Linked DNA regions of Homo sapiens: regions 2 and 3 are each linked to region 1. Evidence: promoter capture Hi-C in human tissues and cell types (Jung and others, 2019). All regions are on one chromosome and are shown on one strand. Each heading gives the region's core, a stretch centred on a gene start or on the middle of the fragment in contact. The rest is flanking DNA. Distances are from core to core; before and after follow the strand shown. Region 1 holds the start of ZNF750 (zinc finger protein 750). Region 2 overlaps QTGAL (queuosine-tRNA galactosyltransferase). Region 3 overlaps QTGAL (queuosine-tRNA galactosyltransferase).

What was found. The method cuts DNA at HindIII sites, captures the fragments that hold promoters and counts their contacts. A contact is called where the count stands out against the background at its distance.
Region 2: a fragment that was not itself captured here is called in contact with the fragment with the promoter of ZNF750 in region 1 in 7 of the 25 tissues and cell types used here (IMR-90 fibroblasts, adrenal gland, dorsolateral prefrontal cortex and 4 more).
Region 3: a contact is called between a fragment that was not itself captured here and the fragment with the promoter of ZNF750 in region 1, in 3 of the 25 tissues and cell types used here (dorsolateral prefrontal cortex, lymphoblastoid cells and mesendoderm cells).

What each region holds. Positions count from the first base shown.
Region 1 is chr17:82,838,634-82,841,333 of GRCh38, forward strand. ZNF750 (zinc finger protein 750) reads right to left here and starts at 1,389. Exons shown (of 3, transcript NM_024702.3): 1 at 1,294-1,389. All of the region lies in intron 13 of TBCD (tubulin folding cofactor D), which reads left to right. The HindIII fragment of the contact is 7,618 bases long and covers 787-2,700 here.
Region 2 is chr17:83,000,890-83,003,589 of GRCh38, forward strand. The region is part of intron 6 of QTGAL (queuosine-tRNA galactosyltransferase); the gene reads right to left. Among named protein-coding and RNA genes, the nearest start is that of QTGAL, 50 kb to the right of the region's middle. The HindIII fragment of the contact is 7,803 bases long and covers 1-2,700 here.
Region 3 is chr17:83,030,398-83,033,160 of GRCh38, forward strand. All of the region lies in intron 4 of QTGAL (queuosine-tRNA galactosyltransferase), which reads right to left. Among named protein-coding and RNA genes, the nearest start is that of QTGAL, 20 kb to the right of the region's middle. The HindIII fragment of the contact is 9,928 bases long and covers 1-2,763 here.

The DNA of each region.
Region 1 (2,700 bases), core at 139-2,638:
TCCAATTGAGCTTTTCCAGTGATTGACTGCCACTCCCTCCCAGCCTTTCGGTTCTTTAAAATGAAAGATAAACCTCAGGACAACCAAGACCTGGGGAAAAGACAGTCTTTGGGAATGTAATTTGGAAGAATGGATCCAGAAAAACAACCAGGGGCTCTTAACTCTAGTTTCGGCAGGAGATCCCGAGTTACAGACCTGAGCTCGTAAACAAACGCTCACCACTTTACAGTCGCCGCCTCATCCTGAAACTCCGGTCAGAAATGCTGGAAGGCCTTTGCTAATGCGCAGTGAAAATTAGGGGCACAGATGTGGACGGACTGTGCTTGGTCAGTAATTGTTCTCCTCCAAATCAAGTTTATGAGAAATTTCATATAAGGAAAAAAACCCTTTTGTATCTGTGTCTATATGTACAGAAGACCTTAACAACCAAACAGAAACTTAACCCCTTTGGTTTGGTTTTGTTTTCGAAAGCTTATGCCCAATTTTAAACTTCATGTAAGCTTATGTACTTATTTTAAACTTTAAAACTATTAAAAGTTAAACTAGATAGTAAATTCGGCACTGTCTAATGTGCATACACCACAAACATATAACCCTAAATTCAGCTGTGTCTAATGTGTATACACCACACATATATATAACCCTAAATTCAGCCTGATGTACTTATACCACACATATATAACCCTAAATTCAGCCTAATGTACATATACCACACACACATATATATAACCCTAAATTCAGCCTAATGTACATACACCACACATATATATAACCCTAAATTCAGCCCTAATGTACATACACCACACATATATAACCCTAAATTCAGCCTAATGTACATACACCACACATATATATAACCCTAAATTCAGCCCTAATGTACATACACCACACATATAACCCTAAATTCACCCTAATGTACATACACCACACATATATATATGACCCTTACCTCTTGTTAGCATTTATTGTAGTTTGTTTTTGAGGTTAGGAGCAGTTAAGCAATAATATGAATTTGTGTTGGTTTAACTTTTATGAATTTTAGGGCAGAACAAGGAGTTAATTTCCAGATAAGCTTGTTCATGTTCTTAGAATAAAGTGTCAGCCTCATTAGAAGTTTTGTAATCGTGGTCTGCATCCCAGCCATGCACCTGCTGGGTCCTGAGTAATCCTCGGAGCCCAGAGCAAGGCAGAGCAGACACGGAGCAAACGCTGCGTTCAGCTGGGTATTTTAGATACGTCTGAGAAGAGTTTTAAAATAAAACTTGAATTTGAAAAGAAATAGTGAGTACTTACCAGAGGTGGGCAGTGCTGGGATGTGGCCGGTCTTGGTGCCGGTGGCTGGCGGTGCTCAGGAAGCAGTACCTGTTCTCACGCTTGCTGGGTGAAACTGGAGCCTGCTGTTCCAGTGGGAGGGATTTAAGTGTAGGAGTTGAGCCCTCGGGGCGTAGAGATGCACCTGATATTCCTCCTGCCCGCAGCTACGATTCATGTGTTTGCACCCACCGAGCTGCTGCGGGCAGCCTCCCCAGCACTGGACCCAGCAAGCAAGTTATCTCGCCGACTCCCAGCGCTGTCTCCAGACTCAACTGTCTGTGAGTGCGGCGTCGGTGCTGCCTGGACGGCCATATGTCAGAGGGCTTTCGATGTGTCCGCAGTTAGAATAGAGATTACTATATTCATCAGAATCACACCCGATGAATATTTGGCGTCATGATAAAGACATGTGAGACTTTCCTTTAGAACTTGAGCATGTGTACGCAGGAGGCAAACACTTGGATTGATTCTCAAGCGCGCATACCCTGGGAGGCACAGTATTCATGGCGTCCTTGCCATGAGGTCCAGTGAGGCCTTTGAGGATCTGTGGACCTTCCACCCTCTACCCTGCTCCTGAGAGTCTCTGTCCCTGGTCCTCCTCAGGAGCTGAGCCGGCAGGGAGGGAGCTTATCCCAGAGCCTGGCTGCAGGGACCTGCCGGAGCTTGCCCGACACCAGGCACCGCAAGAGCTGCGGAGCAGGGTGTGTGGGTGCGGGGGAGGGGGCCAGCTGTGCACTCCCGCAAACCACCCTCCCCCCACTTTAAATTGCAGAGGCACTTAACTTGGGGGCCAGTTTTTACCTCCACACCCCCCCACCAAAACTGCTTGCTTGCTTAATCGGAGGCCGCACCCCAGTTGTAGCGAAGGCTGGCATGTGGTGTCGGTTTGAGGACTGGGAAAGGAGGTGGGATGAGCTGGTGTCAGGCCCTTGGATGAGCCTGAGGCTGCAGGGCAGAGGCTGCAGGGCTGTGGCATAGGGACGAGCTGGCCAGGACAGACAAACTGGTTTTTTTTTTTTTTTTTTTTTTTTTTTTTGAGACAGAGTTTCACTGTTGCTGCCCAGGCTGGAGTGCAATGGCATGATCTTGGCTCACTGCGTTTCTCCTGCCTCAGCCTCCCGAGTAGCTGGGACTACAGGCGCCTGCCACCACGCCCGGCTAATTTTTTGTATTTTTAGTAGAGATGGGGTTTCACCGTGTTAGCCAGGATGGTCTTGATCTCCTGACCTTGTGATCCACCCACGTCGGCCTCCCAAAGTGCTTGGATTACAGGTGTGAGCCACTGCACCCGGTCTGTTTTTTTGTTTTTGTTATTTTTTTCCTTAAGACTTAAGATTTTACATGGCTTTGCGTTTACTTTTATATTTAATTCCTTTTTTTTTTCTT
Region 2 (2,700 bases), core at 112-2,611, 160 kb after region 1:
CCTGAGCCTCCAGCAAATGTAAAACTGCTGTGCAGGCAGAAAGTGGGTCATGGTTGCATGGTGTGGGGAGGGCTCCGGGATGGACAGGAGGAAACTTGGGGTGTTGGATATATGTGTTCACTGTGTTGACTGTGGTGGGTCACTGGGGTACAGACACATGTCAAAACCGATCAAACTGTACATTTGAAATAGGGGCCATTTGCTGTATGTCAGTTATACATCAACAAAGCTATACATCAACAAAGGTATACATCAACAAGACAAATGGACAAATCACTGTAAATCCCATAAAGCCTCTAGCTCTAAGTACTACTTTGCAGGAACTCCAGGGACAGAGGAATCTGTTAAATGAGACCAGGGAGATGCAATCAGCAGAAGTCGGACTACTGAAAGCACCGATGGCAAATCATTCAACATCGTCCACAACATAGTCAAGGAAAAGGAAGACGGAGGAATCTGGATATTTAAAGGGATTTATCAACAACTGCAATGTATGCACCTTCTTTAGATCTCAATTCAAACCAGAAACTGTGAAGAAAAAAGGAAGAAGATGAGAAAGTGGACAAGGAGGAGAAAAACAGAACTTTATGAAACAGAAAGTCCCAGGAAGGAACACTTCGGCATCCTTCAAGTCAACACAGGGTGTAGGACTCCATTTACGTAAAATTCCAGCAAACGTAAACCAGTCTATGGTCACAGAAAGCAGAGGGGCGGGCGGGGTGGGGGACGGGAGCCCCTCTAGGTGCTGGGTGTGTGACCTGCACACAGAGACATCTGAGAGGAACAAGTGGTGGGTTTGCAGTAACATCGTTTTTTCTCTGTAATTTTTTATATTGCTTGACTTTATGAAACAGTGAAGCATAACTTTTGACAAATGCAATAAAGTTTTTCTTTTTCTTTTTTTGAGACAGGGTCTGTTGCCCAGGCTGGAGGGCAGTGGTACAATCATGGCTCATGGTGGCCTTGACCTCCTGGGCTCAGGTGATCCTCCCACCTCAGCCTCCCGAGAAACTGGGACTAAAGGTGTGAACCACCACACCCAGATAATGTTTCGTAGAGACAGGGTCTCACTATATTGCGCAGACTGGTCTTAAATCCCCAGGCTCAAGTGATCCTCCTGCTTCAGCCTCTCAAAGTGCTGGGATTATAGGCGTGAGCCACTGCGCCTTTTTTTTTTTTTTAAATTTCCCACACTATACTGGCATGAAGGTCTATTTTAAAATTGTTTTAAGTGAATACAGTATGTAACTGATAAAAGAACATTGATTCATTTTAATTAAAAAACATGAAAATAAAAAACTCTTCTATGGGCATCAAAGCTAACACTCAGGAGAAAGCCTGCCCCCACGGGGCAGCTCAGCCATGGCCTCCGGGGAACCCGCTCTCGGTGACAGCGCTCTGACCGCGGTCTGGAGCTGGGCTGAAACTCAACATGTGTCCAGACTGCTGCAGTTCAGAACCAGCTTGGCAACGCCGAACCGCATTCCGGTTTGCACGAGGTGCACGTTACTTAGAAAAGTAGCCACAGTCTGCCTGAGTTCCCGTTTTAAGTATTTTCACAACTTCACTGAAAAGCACAGCAACTCACTCACAGTGTGCAGCCTAGTCACCAGGACACGCGCCCTCGGCCGCTAGCTCGTACAGGGAAGGGCTGTCATGACATGACCACAAGATGGTCTCTGCCTCCCCCAGGGGCAGCCAAGGGCCCCACAGAGGATGGCAGGGACAAGCCACCCATGTGGCAACGGCCACGTCCCCTCCCTCAGACGGCAGCCAGTCATACCCGAGGCGGCACCGCGGGCGGCCCCGTGTCCAGTCTCACAGAAGCACAGTCCACTGCCGAGGACACCCTGTTGTCCACATCGCATGCAGCAGCCTGGCTCTTGGAACGTGCTGGGGGCACACGGGACACGGAGACGCTGAAACACTAGCTGTGGGATTCCTGAGCCCGCCCTCCCACTCTCTGCAGTCCGCGTGTGGGATTCCTGAGCCCGCCCTCCGCGTGTGGGATTCCTGAGCCCGCCCTCCCGCCCTCCGCGTGTGGGATTCCTGAGCCCGCCCTCCCACTCTCCGCAGTCCGCGTGTGGGATTCCTGAGCCCGCCCTCCCGCCCTCCGCGTGTGGGATTCCTGAGCCCGCCCTCCCGCCCTCCGCGTGTGGGATTCCTGAGCCCGCCCTCCCACTCTCCGCAGTCCGCGTGTGGGATTCCTGAGCCCGCCCTCCCGCCCTCCGCGTGTGGGATTCCTGAGCTCGCCCTCCCACTCTCTGCAGTCCGCGTGTGGGATTCCTGAGCCCGCCCTCCGCGTGTGGGATTCCTGAGCCCGCCCTCCCACTCTCTGCAGTCCGCGTGTGGGATTCCTGAGCCCGCCCTCCCGCCCTCCGCGTGTGGGATTCCTGAGCCCGCCCTCCCGCCCTCCGCAGTCCGCGTGTGGGATTCCTGAGCCCGCCCTCCCGCCCTCCGCGTGTGGGATTCCTGAGCTCGCCCTCCCACTCTCTGCAGTCCGCGTGTGGGATTCCTGAGCCCGCCCTCCCACTCTCCGCAGTCCGCGTGTGGGATTCCTGAGCCCGCCCTCCCGCCCTCCGCGTGTGGGATTCCTGAGCTCGCCCTCCCACTCTCTGCAGTCCGCGTGTGGGATTCCTGAGCCCGCCCTCCCACTCTCTGCAGTCCGCGTGTGGGATTCCTGAGCCCGCCCTCCCACTC
Region 3 (2,763 bases), core at 123-2,622, 190 kb after region 1:
AGAAGGAGGCAAAGGGCAGCTGTAGAGGTGGAAAGGAGAACAGCCTCTGACACGGGACAGGCCTTGGGCGTTGCAGGCTGTGCTCAGAGCACCTGCCGGCTTGTGAGGGTTCTAGACGGCACTGCTGCTCGGGGTCTGGGGCACGGCTACAGCCACATCCCTGTCCCCTCGGTTCAAGGATCGGCAGTGAGGATGAGAACGGCCAGGCTTGTCTGTAACCCTCCCCACAGCCCCGGCGATGACTCGACAATGCTGTAGAGCCGGCCGAATGGATGCAGAGCCTTTGGGCCGTCCCCGTCTGCAGCGCCCGCCCCGCCTTGGCCCTTCTCATCCCAGCCACATGGGCCCCTCTCCTCTCACCTGAGGCCCCAGTTCAGAGGCCTCGGGGCGGTTCCGGGAAGGCCATGTGGCTTCCTGTGCACGTGGACAGCCATGCGGCCGGTTCCCCAGTGAAGACGGGAGTCGGGGGACAGGAGGGTGGCAGAGGCTCTCCACCCTGGGAACCCTGAAGGGCGAAGGGAAAAGAAAACCTGGTCGGCTCAGAAGTAAGCAGCGCTCTCACAACCACCAGACCTCCTGGGTGAAGCCGCTCTGCAGATGTTTTCATAGACATTATGTTTGAACATCTCTAAGAGGACTGGAACCCAAATCATTATAATGAATGAGCTATTTAGAGGCTATTTTCTTTAAAAGCCAGGCTTCTTGTTTACTTTGTTTTATTCTACTAAAGTTTCCAAGAACACAGACAACCGAGACGAGAACACAGCAGTGTGTGCCAGGAGGAAACGCCGCGTCAGGCACTGATCCATCAGAGGCCGGCAGGGAAGGGTGTAAACTCAGCGACGGCCGCCAGAGCACCCACGGGTCCCTCGCAGGACCAGAGTCACGTTTTCCAGCGGGGAAGGGTGTAAACTCAGCAACGGCCGCCAGAGCACCCACGGGTCCCTCGCAGGACCAGAGTCACGTTTTCCAGCGGGGAAGGGTGTAAACTCAGCGACGGCCGCCAGAGCACCCACGGGTCCCTCGCAGGACCAGAGTCACGTTTTCCAGCGGGGAAGGGTGTAAACTCAGCGACGGCTGCCCGAGCACCCACGGGTCCCTCGCAGGACTGGCGCCACGTTTAGACAGGGCTCTGCGAGGACTCACCCCTCTGCCCCTTAGGAACCTGGCCATGGGACAGTCACGGGGGAGGCCTTCCACAGCCTTTCCAAGGACACCTGAGGCCACCTAATAGGCTCGAGGACAAGCCGTCTAGGCAGGTGTCACGTGACGAGAACGGTGTGCAGGGAGGCTCCACTCTGACTGCAGCAGGTGTGGGGTGGGTCCCAGGGAGGATGGAGATGCTTCATGAGCAAAAGGTGAAGATCTGTTTAAACCGTCCTCAGTTGCCAACGCTAGAGGTCAGGAACCGAATCTGTTCGACTGTAACGCCCTCTGCACATACTGGATCCAGAGTGAGTTTCAGGTGACGTTCACACTGGTCAGCTGGGCAAAACCCCAACGTCCTTCGAGGATGTTCACTCTCGTCCTCATCAACTCCACAGAGCAGCCAGCACCCGGGAAGGTGCCCACAGGCCCAGCCTCACAACATCTGCAGACCTGCTCCTAAGCCAGGCACAGAAGCTGAACAACCGGGTCAGACCAGGCCAGGCCTCCGACGCAGACCGAACTCGGGAGCTGAACAACCAGGTCAGACCAGGCCAGGCCTCCGACCCAGACCGAGCTCGGGAGCTGAACAACGGGTCAGACCAGGCCAGGCCTCCGACGCAGACCGAACTCGGGAGCTGAACAACGGGTCAGACCAGGCCAGGCCTCCGACCCAGACCGAGCTTGGGAGCTGAACAACGGGTCAGACCAGGCCAGGCCTCCGACCCAGACCGAGCTCGGGAGCTGAACAACGGGTCAGACCAGGCCAGGCCTCTGACGCAGACCGAACTCGGGAGCTGAACAACGGGTCAGACCAGGCCAGGCCTCCGACCCAGACCGAGCTCGGGAGCTGAACAACCAGGTCAGACCAGGCCAGGCCTCCGACGCAGACCGAACTCGGGAGCTGAACAACCAGGTCAGACCAGGCCAGGCCTCCGACGCAGACCGAACTCGGGAGCTGAACAACCAGGTCAGACCAGGCCAGGCCTCCGACCCAGACTGAGCTCAGGGGCCCAGCACACCCTAATCCTGTCACCCAAAGACAATAAAAAGCACCATTTTCCATGTGGTGGGTTGAGCTGTCCTTGGTGGATGCTGTCTTAGTGAGGAAAACATTGGATGGACCATCTGAGCATGAAAACATGAGCCCAAGGAAGGGTCAGGAGAGAGGGCTGAAGGTTCTGTGTAAGAAAACGGGAGAAATCTGAGGTGTTTTGGTCTAAGAAGAAAAGAGAAGAAAGAGACCCAGGCACCAGGACAGGAGTCATAGCAGCTGGTGCCGCCCTGGGGGTTCCGCCTTCCCGAGCTGGGCCGATAAATATGCAGTTTTACCCCGTCTGCACACGGGCACGCCTCTCCCAAACTTCCACATGTACCAGGAGCATGTGCAGAGGCTTCTGGTGATCAAGGAAAAGAGCTGGGTCAGGAGGAGAGGAACGGGCGGCTCCCGCGTAAATCCCCGCGTAGGCAGGAGCTCTGGGCCAGAGCGGCCTGGAGACGCTGAGCGGCACCCCAGGAATGCACAGAAGCCCCGGAACCTGGCCACAGAGGAGGGACAGATACAGATAAATGTTCCTGAAGTTTATTTTAAAGTAATTTTTAAATATCTATAGTTGA